Linked DNA regions of Homo sapiens: region 1 is linked to region 2. The links are contacts of gene promoters, found by promoter capture Hi-C in blood cells and fetal thymus (Javierre and others, 2016). All regions are on one chromosome and are shown on one strand. Each heading gives the region's core, a stretch centred on a gene start or on the middle of the fragment in contact. The rest is flanking DNA. Distances are from core to core; before and after follow the strand shown. Region 1 overlaps TSPEAR (thrombospondin type laminin G domain and EAR repeats). Region 2 holds the start of SUMO3 (small ubiquitin like modifier 3).

Evidence for each region. Contacts are between HindIII fragments. The CHiCAGO score rates a contact against its expected background, and 5 or more counts as called.
Region 1: a contact is called between a fragment that was not itself captured here and the fragment with the promoter of SUMO3 in region 2, in 5 of 17 cell types (total CD8 T cells, naive CD4 T cells, naive CD8 T cells and 2 more). The highest score is 8.0, in total CD8 T cells.

Annotation. Positions count from the first base shown.
Region 1 is chr21:44,495,860-44,502,233 of GRCh38, forward strand. TSPEAR (thrombospondin type laminin G domain and EAR repeats) reads right to left here. Exons shown (of 12, transcript NM_144991.3): 12 at 2,034-4,077. The coding sequence ends at 3,924. Among named protein-coding and RNA genes, the nearest start is that of TSPEAR-AS1, 7.0 kb to the right of the region's middle. The HindIII fragment of the contact is 161 bases long and covers 5,045-5,205 here.
Region 2 is chr21:44,816,357-44,822,137 of GRCh38, forward strand. SUMO3 (small ubiquitin like modifier 3) reads right to left here and starts at 1,706. Exons shown (of 4, transcript NM_006936.3): 1 at 1,592-1,706. The coding sequence starts at 1,612. RefSeq lists silencers at 1,238-1,437, 1,618-2,197, 2,218-2,317. The HindIII fragment of the contact is 14,551 bases long and covers 1-5,781 here.

The sequences.
Region 1 (6,374 bases), core at 3,875-6,374, 320 kb before region 2:
GTAGTGTCAGCTGGAGAGGTGGTGACTGATTTAGGGCTCCGGTTTAGGGCTGAACCAGGGTCAGCTGCTTCTTTGTGTGTTGGTCCCCTTCTGCGGAAAGCAAAGGGATTGGACCAGATGATCGTGAAAGAACCTTCCGATGTTAAGATGTAGAGTTTCGATGGTTCCATGATAGAGAGGGATCACAGAAAAGCTCCACAAAGCTTAACCTCCCAGGGGGACAATTACAATAATGTGAAGTTAATGCTAACACAGGATAGTTTGATGTGGGTGTGACGGCATAGGGAGGTCGGGGGCCTGGAGGCTTCTCAGACTCATTCTCAGCACCAGATGTGGCATCAGGAACAGCCTGAAGGGAGGCTAAGGGATCCCGCCCTCTCCCCAGCTCTGAAGATGCCTCCACAGTGAAGAAGAGACAGGGAGCCCCCAACTCTGCACTTTCACTGGCTACTCCCACACTGCGGGGCAGGGGAGGAGGAAGACCCCAACACCTCCCACCACCGCTACAGACCCCGACCAAACGTCAGTTCTCACCTGCGCCACCGCCCCAACCACCCCTGAGAGCCATTAGGTGACAGTTGTGCTTCACCCGCAAAAGGTCTTCCTTTGCCAATTTTTGTCACAAGTTTTTGCATATTGTTTGCATAAATTTGCAGGTAGGATTCAAAAGGTCCTGATTCCAATTACACAAGAGAAAACACACTGACTGCAAGTGCAGTTGAAGAAGGTTCTCAGAAGGGCACGCTGGAACCGCTCCCCGGTGCCAGGAGAGGTGTTTGAACTACGTGCTGCTGGGGCGCCCAGACGGGCTTCCCCACGATCCAGGAAATCAGAGCTTTTGCAACGTTGGCTTGAAATCGTGGCTAACAAGACAGAAAAGTGCTCTTCTCAACCCCAGGGGAAGACTGGGGAGGTGGGCGGGGCCCCAGGGCCCACTGATTCCATCCAAGAGGGGGCATGGAAGGACAGCGGCGAGCCCACGTCTGGAGCTTCTCCCTCCTGTGAAAGGCAAACAGAATCCTGAGATGCCAAACTCACTGTTCCAAAGGGAAAGGGAAAGCTTGGAAATGGCGTCACGCAAAACCTGCCTCTCAGGAGAACCAGTCTGTTTCTGAACAGAGAGCTTGCAAGACGGCCGGCCATGTATCTCCCCGGGAGGCCTCCCACACTCTGACAGTGTCGATGAGCAGCTGATCCTCGCGAGTGTGGGACAAAAGACTAGGGCTTGCTTTTATTTTTGTTCAGGGACACAGAGCCAACACCACCAGCTACTAAAGGAATAAAACCACATCTTGCTTGTTTAAAGCAGTAAAGGAACAAAATTGCATAGGCCAGGAGGTGCTTTTGTGTCTCCAGCCGTGACTTCTGGTTAAACACTCGAGAAAAACACAGGCTTGGCTTTTTCTTCTTTTCTGTGTCTACTCTATCTGACGTCAGATGCAGGTTTGCTGAGTGCCAGGTGAGTGCCTAAAGGGCTGTTCCCCCACCTCCCCCTTTCACTTGCAACGTGCACTCAGTGCGTGCTAATTAAAGCCTCCCAGGAGCCTGACCACTGGCCTCATTGCCCACCCACCGTCTTCTCTCTCCCCCTTCCCCCTGCCCTCTCCTCTCCTCCTCTTTTAAATACTCAGCACCTCAAAATGCTCTCTGGAAAAGGCCTGGCCACAGGTCCTGCTGTGACTGGTGCCACTTTTTCCTGGGCAGATTCTCAACCTTGGCATCATAACCCTCTAAGCTGACTGAGACCTGGCTCAGACACTTTCAGTTTTGTGCTCCAAACACTGAGTGGTAACTTTACCCAGAAGTTCTTAGATTTTCAGCCACTCAAGCCAGGCTCTGATTTCCAAAATAAGTCCAGATCTAGAACAGTTTGGGGAATGAAGGGATCTGGCTGAGAGATGGGAGTTGGAACAGTTGCGACACCGTCAGCCTCACATGAACAGAAACAAATTACTCAAACAAGAGAAGAGCAAGGCCCAACTGGAAAAGCATGTGGGTGAGTCTGCAAACCAAAAAAGTACCCGACCCAGGCCTCGATCAATGGAGAAGTTTATTTTGCCAAGGCTAAGGATGCACCCAGGAGACAGGTCTGTGCCTCTCTCCCAAGATGATGTTGAAGGCTTCAGTCAAGGGGAAAAGCCGGCTGGAGGGGGCAGAGGGAGGAGGGTGTGGTCACATGACTGATTGCTCCATGCTGCAGGAGAAAAGGAGCAGGTGGGAACAGTCAGTTACCTGTTTATCTCGTGCTCAGTAAATTGGCACTTTCCATGAGATAAGGGGCACACAGAGCAGCCACTAGTGGAGATGCTGACCCTCTCATCTGCAGCTGTCTGCTTAGGGCAAAGGGAAAGGCAGCTTCCTGCAGGACTCAGCTTTCAGCTTTTTTCTTCTTGGTTGAGTGAATTGGGGTGTCGAGTTTTTAATCTTCCTTTCACAGGTGCTGACCCAATGAGGCCAATCATGTGTGATTGGGACCTTCTGAGTGACTTGGTGGAAAGCAGGGCCCAACCCTCCTGCCCAGGACGCTTGGGAAAGCCTTGCTGGCTGGACGGAGGGGAAGGAGGCTCTCGGCGACTGCCCCCAGAGGGGAGTGGCTCTCCACTGGCCACAGCGATGGCTGGAGTGAGACCTGAGCCCCGGAAAAACACGAAGGTCCCAAAGCCGGCAAAAGTAGACACTGAGTTTATTATTTGCCAGACAAGGGGAGGCTTCCATTTCATTACGAAAGGTCAGGAGTGCTCTCTGAGCTGAAGGTGAACAGACAGCTGCGGTGTAGGAAATAGGAAGTTTTGTCCACAGTTCTGATTGGCGGAAAAAGCACATTGTAAACTCTCTGAGGATCGCTCCTGTTCCGATTTGTGTTGCAGAAGCAGGAGCACCGTTCCTGGAAGACCGTGGCAGGTGTGGTCTGGGCTGCGTGGCCCCGGAGCCTGCTGTCTGAGCCTCTTCTCATGGAGTGGGGGTGGTTTCTCTGGCACCTACATGGGTTAAGAGGGAGGACCCCTGGGGCCTTGCGCCCATCACCCCCTCTCATCCTCACTGCCTGTGACGGACAGACAAGCAGCTCTCCCAGCTGCAGAGACAAGATGACCACAGGAGAGCCAGCAGAGGATGCTGTTACCAGGGAGCTAGGACAGCCAGCACACAGGCAGACGGAGGCACGCAGCCTGAGTCCCAGTCAGCTGGAGGACATGTGATTAAAATGCTGCTGAATAGGGAAAAAATCCCGGGCCCAGAAGTTGAGGTCCCTGTGGGTGGGGCCGTGGGGAGGGGGTGCGACCCAGGCCATGCCCAGGCTTGTGATTTCTGACCTCGCGCTAGTGCATTTACGGGTAAACTGAGGCTGGGAGGGAAGCCTCTCTCTGTATGGGGAGGTGGTCCTCTGTCCGTGTCCGTGGTGAGGGGCTGTGCCCACCCGCTGCCTAGAGAGGAGCACCGGTGCTTTTGTAAAGAGCAGTATAAATACACTTCCGTTCAGATAAAACACAATAAATAGGTGGCGGCAATGGCGGGACGGCACCACACCTGCTCAGGCGGCCGGACGCACACTGCAGGAGTGGCTGGCGAGAGGCCAGCCGCAGGGACATGAACCGAGGTCCTGTTGTTTGAGGTAAAAATGTATAGAAACGGTTCCTTGACAGCGAAATCCCCGCTTGACACTCAGATGGGCGAGCACTGGCAGGGGCTCTGGGCCTCTGCCTGCAAGACCAGACCGTCACTGGGGCTGTGGCTCAGAAGGACTCAGAGGTGGATGGATGTCCCTGCCCGAACCAGGGCCGCAGATGGCCCCACCTGCACCCTGCCTGATGCCCAGGCCCGGGATGCCCTAGGCTGGGCCCACCTGGACGTCCAGGGTCAGTTGGGGGAGGTGCTGGGGTCCCGCCCCACCTGGCCACCCCAGTTGCTGCCGGGCAGCCGCGGCCTCAGCGTGTCCTCAGCCGCAGGACCCTGGAGAGGGGCTCCTTGGCGCTGGAGTAGATGAGGTAGGCACCAGCCGTGGTGCTGAAGGCCTCCCAGTCCCTGCAGCCGACGGTGGGGAGGCTGTGCACCGCCACGAAGCCCTCGTAGCCCTGCCACCTGCGGAACAGACAGCGGCAGCCGGGTCAGCCTGGGCTCTGCGGGGCAGCTCCTCTCCCCCGGCTCCCACCCGCGCTGTCAGGGACCCAGCAGCTCTGGGTCACATCTGAGCCTCTTCCATCCCCCCGACTGGCACAGCGTGGGGAGATCGATTCTGGGCCATGAGGGCCTTCTCATCTTGCAAAGCAGGAGGCTGAGGCCCAGAAGAGGAAAGATTCCAGATCTCACCAAGATCCCAGCGCTACCTCCTATCCACCCAAGATCCTAACCCCGGGGACCCCCAAACGTGCAGTTCCGAGGGTCGGCCTCAATCGTGAGGTGCGTGACTTTCCCCAGGGCCCCCCTCAAACACACGCAGGCCACCACGCAGGCTGGAACCCCTCCGTCCTCAGATACAGGAGCCCAGCTCTCTGCCCGCTGCTCTGCGGCCCCACGTCAGGGGCTGCCCCAGGCCCTCATTCTTGCTCTGGGCGGCTGCTGGCCGCCAGGGTTTGCCTTCAAAAGGACTCATTTATCCCAGGAGCTTCCATTTCCGAGGCGTGGAGTCCCCAAGGCAGGGCGCCGACATCAAAGGGCACGAGTTGTTTACATTTAATATTAAATAATAAAGTATGAAAATAAATTCTTCCAGACTGCTTTCTGGAAAAACCGTGGTGGCTTCTGCTCTCACGGGAAAGGGCAGGGTGGGGTCCCCCTGGGATCCCCCAACCCACTCCACTGCCCATCTTTAACACACTTCCAAACAAATGGGGGAGAACCTGGCAGGGTTTTGCTTTGAGGACAAATCCCTTATAATGTTTATTCACACTGTTCATCTTTTCTTCTAAAAATTCATATTTATATCTTTTGTCCATTTTTCCAAATTTAAAGACACATTTTTTATTAGTTTGTAAGGGTTGGTTTTCTGTCGTGTGTGTGGTAAAGAGTTTGTCTTTTGCTTTTGAATAGGATGTCTGTTTCCATAGAAAGCTTTTAACACAGGTGGTCGACCCAGTGCCTTTCCTTCTGGGCTTGTCTTCTTCATAGAACCCTGAGGTTATACAACTGCCTTCAGCTTTTCTTCTTTTTCACATTTGGACTTTTAATCCATATAACATTTATTTTTGTGTACAATGTGAAGTGGGGGTAAGCTTTGTTTTCTTCCAGATTACATGAAGCTAATCTCCCGAATCATATGGAGTTATCAAGTAAAACCCATCCTTTTCTCATTGCCTTCAAATATAGCATTTATGGCCGGGCGGGGTGGCTTACGCCTATAATCTCAGCACTTTGGGAGGCTGAGGCGGGCAGATCACTTGAGGTCAGGAGTTCGAGAACAGCCTGGCCAACATAGTGAAACCCCATCTCTATTAAAAATACAAAAATTAGCCAGGCATGGGCTAGGCGCAGTGGCTCATGCCTGTAATCCCAGCACTTTGGGAGGCCGAGGCGGGCAGATCACAAGGTCAGGAGATCGAGACCATCCTGGCTAACACAGTGAAACCCCATCTCTACTAAAAAATACAAAACAATTAGCCAGGTGTGGTGGCAGGTGCCTGTAGTCCCAGCTACTCAGGAGGCTGAAGCAAGAGAATGGCGTGAACCCAGGAGGCGGAGCTTGCAGTGTGCCGAGACTGGGCCACTGCACTCCAGCTTGGGCGACAAAGCGAGACTCCATCTCCAAAAAGAAAAAATAAAATTAGCCAGGCATGGTTGGCCCATGCCTGTGGTCCCAGCGACTAGGGAGGCTGAGGTGGGAGGATTGCTTGAGCCTGGGAATTTCAGCCTGCAATGAGCTGAGGTTATGCCACTGCACTTCAGCCTGGGCTACAGAGTGAGACCCTGTCCCCCCCAAAAAATAAATAAGAAGGAGATATTATTAAAAAGGTACCCAGGCCCAGATGGCTTTATAACTGAATTTAACCCAGCTGTCAGAAATGAGAGAAAAAATCCTATTCTTCAGACTATCCCAGTCCACAGGTGCAGTTAGAAAGCCCTGCAGTGTGTATTTACTGTTAGGCTTCATTTTAAACTGGATAAAGTTAAGTCCCCAAAAGAAAACCACCGAGCAATCTAATTTCCTATTATAGATGCTAAAAGCTTAAAGACAGGCAATTGGAAGCCAGTGGCTTATTCAATAATTCTGCATCATCACCAAGTGGCATCGGGTCTAATAACGCGAGGAGATGTCTCACTATAAATCATGACATCAACAGTAAACATAGTGGACCGCACCACGCACTCACAGATGCCAAAGGAGACCTCAGCCCTGGCCCGGATGGCCCACAGCCCATCAAACGGCCATGCTCAGATGTGCT
Region 2 (5,781 bases), core at 456-2,955:
CACCCCAAATGCCATCTGGATAGGGCAGGTTTCCCTGGAGTCTGACCACAGCAAGCAGAGTGCAGACTTCCATAGAGGCCGCGACCATGGTTCCTGACGGTTCCATCCCACTTCCCGCCAGTGTCTGGCACTGAGCCTCCACCCTCATCTGTAAAGGGAGGGTGGTCACCTCCAGGACCAGGCCAGTATCAGAGACAGCCTCTTTACAGAGCCTTCAGCTCTAGTCATCTTCCACTGGGATGTAACATAGAGGCCGACAGTGCACACCAAGGGCTTCGGAAAGGTTCTCTTTTTATGAACACTGGAGAATGCGACTACAGACCCTCCCGAGAAGGAATGGCCAGTGCACCTGAATGCAGGGTGCATACCCCAGGACTGAGACTGGAGGGAGGCACACCCCAGCATGGCAATGGGGGAGACTAAAGCCCACCCAAGGCTGGATAAGGAGGGGTGGGCGCGCATGGTGGGGGAGGCGCAATGCAGAGAAGTGGGCGCACACCGTGGGGCGTGATAGGGAGGGGTGGGCACACACTATAGGGGGCGTGATGGGGAGGGGTGGGCGCACATCGTGGAGGGGGTGATGGGGAGGGGTGGACGCACACTGGGGGTGTGATGGAAAGGGGGACGCGATGGATAGGGGTGGGCGCACACTGGGGGACGCGACGGGGAGGGGTGAGCACACACTGGGGGTGTGATGGAGAGGGCGACGCAATAGGGAGGGGTGGGCGCACACCAGGGACGCGATGATGGGGACGGGTGGGCGCACACCAGGTGGCATGATGGGGAGGAGTGGGTACACACCATGGGGGGCGTGATGGGGAGGCGTGGGCGTACACCGGGGGGCGCGATGGGGAGGGGTGGGCGCACACCGGGGGACGCGATGGAGGCGGTGGGTGCACACGGGGCGCGATGGGTGGGAGTAGGTGCACACTGAGGGCACGATTGGGGAGACACGAAGGAGAGGGGTGGGCGCACACTGGGGGACGCGATGGCCGGGACACGATGCGGAGAAGTGGGTGAATACCGGGGTCGCGATGGGCGCCCTGGAAGGACGGCAGTGCTGCTCACAGGGGCCAGGCCCCTCAGAGCGCGCCCCTTGGGGGTAACCCCAGACGCTTGTTCCCGAGCCGACTCCGTGCACTCGACACAGGATCCCGCACCCAGGGCGATGCCGGGGGAGAGGGCGACCCCAACCAGCAATGACTCAGGAGAGGAGCACGCAAAGACGCTTCGGGGACACTGCTGGGGCGGGATCCGAGGGCGCCGCGCTCTGCAGGAGCAGCAGCGCGGGGCCCGACACCGGGCGCTCAAGGAGGCGCTGGGCGCGCGCCTTCCCAGCTGGGGAGGAGACGGGCGTGGAGCGGAGGCGTGGCCAGGCCCGGAGGGGGCGGAGCTCGCGGCACAGCGCGCTTCGCGGGGGCAGAGGGGGCGCACCTTGGGCGGGCCCACTTAGGGGCGGGGCTCTAGAGGGCGGGGAGGGGCGGAGCCTGTCAGGGGCGGGACGCGGGGCGGAGTCGGGGTGGGGGCGGAGCCGGGCTGGGGGCGGGACGCCCGCGATAGACGCGCGTGCAGGCGGGGTCGCCGCGCTTACCTTGGGCTTCTCCTCGGACATGGCTGCGCGAGCGGCGCGGGGAGGCGGCGCGGGGGAAGCAGCGCGGAGCGGGCGAGTCACGCTCTCGGCCCCGCCGCTCTCCCGCCGCAACTGTGCGCGGGGCCGCGCTTTATCCCCCAAATCCCGGCGCACCCGTTGGCCGGCACGGGGGTCACGTGGCTGCGCGCGTTCACGAGGCGCGCTCCCCGGGGCGTCGGGCGCGCGCAGGCCGGGCCGCGGCTCTGGGCGGTTGGAGATGCGTCACGGGGCGGGTCCCGCGCGACCCCGTCGGGCGCGGAAGCCCTAGGGCGCTGTGGGGCGCGGGCCAGGAGCGTTTACGGGGAGCCCGGGCCCTGGGGACCCTTGCCCGCCTCCCCGCGTCGCCCGGGCCCCGACTCCTTTCCTGGGGGCCGCGTTCCTGGGGCGCCGGGAAGTGAGGCCGGGGCCGCCGCCCATGGCCGCAGGGACCTGGGGCGGAGGAGGGAGGACGCTGGGGGTGACGTTCCCTCTCAGGAGCCGCGGACAGAGCGGAGAAGGCGGCCCGCGGGGTCCCGTCCGCGGGGGCCGCGCGAATCGGGCCAGCACCCTAGACGATTGGGGGCGCCACCCGCCTCCCTGCCGCCGCGGTTTCCTGTCAGCCCCAGGCCGGGCTCCTTTGGCCAACGCTCCTACGGGGCTGCCCCGGGCCCTCCACACCCGTCCTCAAGAAGACCCGTTTTACCTGTGAAGAAACTGAGGCACTGGGAGGTCAAACCACCCCCAGGTCAGCGCTGGTGAGCGGCGCCGAGCTTGGCCAGGCCGCCACGTCGGCGAGCGCGGGCAAACCCAGGCTGGACGCCGCCAGTGCCGGCGGAACGGGGACCTCGTGGACGCGGGAAACGCGCTGGGCCGGCAGGACGGCCTCCCCGGACTTGCGGGCGCCATTCCTGGGGTGCCTGGCCCGCCCCGGCCTCCATGTCTGTGATCCCAGGGCCTCGGATGGAACGGACCTGAGGGCGGACACCCCTGCGTCCCTCAGGAGTGCCCGGGTGGTGCCAGCCGGGGCGTGGCGGAGGTCTCATCTGATGGTGAGCCCGGCCGAAGGCGGGGGAGGCCGCACTTCAGGCTCAGCTGGGAAATGGCAGGGCCTGGATTTGAACCTAAGCGTCTGAGCCGTTTCTGTCCTGCCTGGGAAAGGCTCAGCCAACTGAGCAACGTCGCAAAGCCATGGAGACAAGTCTTCATGGACCATAACTTCACAAACCGTCTTCTACTCAAAAATTCACTTTCTTGGCTAGAGCCCCCACTTAGGAGGGGGAAGGCTGCTGAAGTCTTTCGGGGAGAGGGTCTGAGAGTCAGCCCCAGTCCCAGGCAGGTCATAAGGTGTGGTCCCTTCCTTCTGGAACCTGGAGCCCAGGGCCTCAGCAGAGGATGTGGAGGTGGGTGGCCAGCTCAGACGGTCCTGGGAGGGGGCTCCGCAACCAGCCCCTTCCGAGGGGACGTGGCGCCTCAGAGCCCACAGATTGCTGGCCCTGGAAGTGCCCTAGGGCAGGCAGGGTTCAGAGAGTTATCGACTCCAAGACACCGTTAATCATAAAACAACACGACCGTAGGTAGCACAGACACACTAAACTCCGGCAGGCTGTGGATGACGGCAGCCCGCTTCAGTGTTGTGGAAGTGAGAAACACGCAGCTTAGAAATCATGAGACACAGAACCCAAATGTGTTACCGCTCGAAATTACGCCAGTTGCTGTGTCACGAAGTGATGCGTGACTACAGTCATGGATAAGGGAAAAAGAGGCTCAGATGACATTAGGTTTTAAAAAGCCAGGCTATAAGACAATGGTGGTCTGAATTCAATTCATGCTGTGTCTGTCTCCCACACTGTGACCTGCCCCGAATCCTTCATGTGACAGCAAAGATGCAAAAAGGCTCTGTCGCAGCTGTGGGGACACAAAGGACACCGCTGGTGGACCGAACGCCAAGAGGTTTCTGAAGGACACAGCCAAAGGGGATCGAATGGACGGAGGAACCAGAGCTCAGGAAAAACCGTGGCCTACCACGAGCACAGGGTAAAGAACCCAAATGGCCAGAGCCCCTCCGGAGGGTCGCCACACCTGGCGATGGTCCCAACAAGAAGACTCATGAGAAGGCAGGGAACTGGCAAATGAGTAACAGCATTGCTGACATGAAAGCTCGACCCACATGTGACTAGGAGAGGGGTCCTGGCTGAGGACGCAAAGAACTGCGAGACAAAGTCACAGGACTCTCCCATGATGGAGAAGTTAAGAGAGGAAAGGTCAGGGCTGGGCTGGGTGGCTCATGCCTGTAATCCCAGCACTTTGGGATGCTGAGGCTGGTGGATTACAAGGTCAGGAGTTCGAGACCAGCCTGGTCAACATGGTGAAACCCCGTCTCCACAAAAAAATTAGCCGGGCCTGGTGGCGCATGCCTGTAATCCCAGCTGCTTGGGAGGCTGAGGCAGGAGAATCGCTTAAACCCAGGAGGCAGAGGTTGCAGTGAGCTAAGATCGTGCCGCTGCACTCCAGCCTGGGCAACAGGGTGAGACTCCATTTCAAAAAAAAAGAAAAGAGAGAGGGAAGGTTGGAAGGCCGAGACACCGGGCATCAGTACAGGAAGGGCTACGTCCACCTGACAGGAGCTGCAGGAGAAGGTGGAAAAAAGGAAACCAGGACAAAATCAAAGACAGAATTGGAGAAAATATCTCTGAGGCCAGGCACGGTGGCTCACGCTTGTAATCCCAGCACTTTGGGAGGCTGAGGCAGGCGGATCACCTGAGGTCAGGAGTTTGAGACCAGCCTGAGCAACATGGTGAAACCCCATCTCTACTAAAAATACAAGAATTAGCTGAGTGTGGTTGTGTGTGCCTGTAATTCTGGCTCCTTGGAAGCCTGAGGCTGGAGAATCAGCTTGAACTCAGGAGGCAGAAGCTGCAGTGAGCCAAGGTCGCACCACTGCACTCCAGCCTGGGCAACAGGGCAAGACCCTATCTCAAAGAAAAAGTAAAAATAAGAAATTTCTCTGAACTAAAGAAATATTTGACTCCATAAATGGAAAGGGCCCCTGAGTATCCAATGGCTGAGTGAGAAGACTGACACAGATGCTTGGCATGTGAGGAGAAATCCCTGAGGCGTTCAGAGACGTTTCTACTTACAGTTAGGGAGGACTGGTTGCCTCAGACAAACCCAACAAAAATAGCCCAAAAATCAGTATAAAATATTCTTTAAATCTGTTTAAGGCTATCAGCTACCAAAAGAAGTCTTTCTGTGAGGGGCAAAGACCTTCCCCCACCTCAAAAAGAAAAGGGAAGAGTTTTTTTCCTTTGAGGCACTTGGTGATTAGTATCCTGTGTTAGCCTAGACTTCCATAAAAACATACAGACCGGGGGCCGGACGCGGTGGCTCACGCCGGTAATCCCAGCACTTTGAGAGGCTGAGCCAGGCAGATCACCTGAGGTCAGGAGTTTGAGACCAGCCTGAACAACATGGAGGAACCCCATCTCTACTAAAAATACAAAATCAGCCGGGCATGGTGGCGCATGCCTGTAATCCCAGCTACTCGGGAGGCTGAGGCAGGAGAATCGCTTGAACCTGGGAGGCGGAGGTTGTGGTGAGCCAAGATAGCACCATTGCACTGCAGCCTGGGCAACAAGAGTGAAACTCTGTCTCAAAAAAAAATAAATAAATAATACAGACTGGGCAGCTTAAACCATTGATAGTTATTTCCCAGCCTCCAGACAGTTCTAGAGACTGGAAGCCCAAAATCAGTGAGCCATCAGGGTTGGTGTCCGGTCAAGCCTCTCCTCCCAACTTGTATGCAGCCAACTTGGCGTGTTCTCACAATGGCCTTTCTGCTGTGTCTGCAGAGAGGGAGAGATCTCTGGTGTATCTTCCTCCTTTTGCAAAGACACCAGTCCTCTGGGATTAGGGCCCCACCCTTATCACCTCAGTTAACCTTAATCACCTCTTTAAAGGTTCTGTCTCCAAATGAAATCACATTGGAGGTCAGGGCTTCAACATGTGAATGCTGGGGGGACACAATTCAGTCTCACATATGCAGTGGAAAGAAGTTGACACACTGAGCAGAGCTTTTGCATCTCCTAGGGTTGGGGAGACAATAATTGGTGACAGCCCACAAGATAGGGAGACTCTGATGAGTGACCCAGACCTTCAGCTGAGAGCACTGAGGG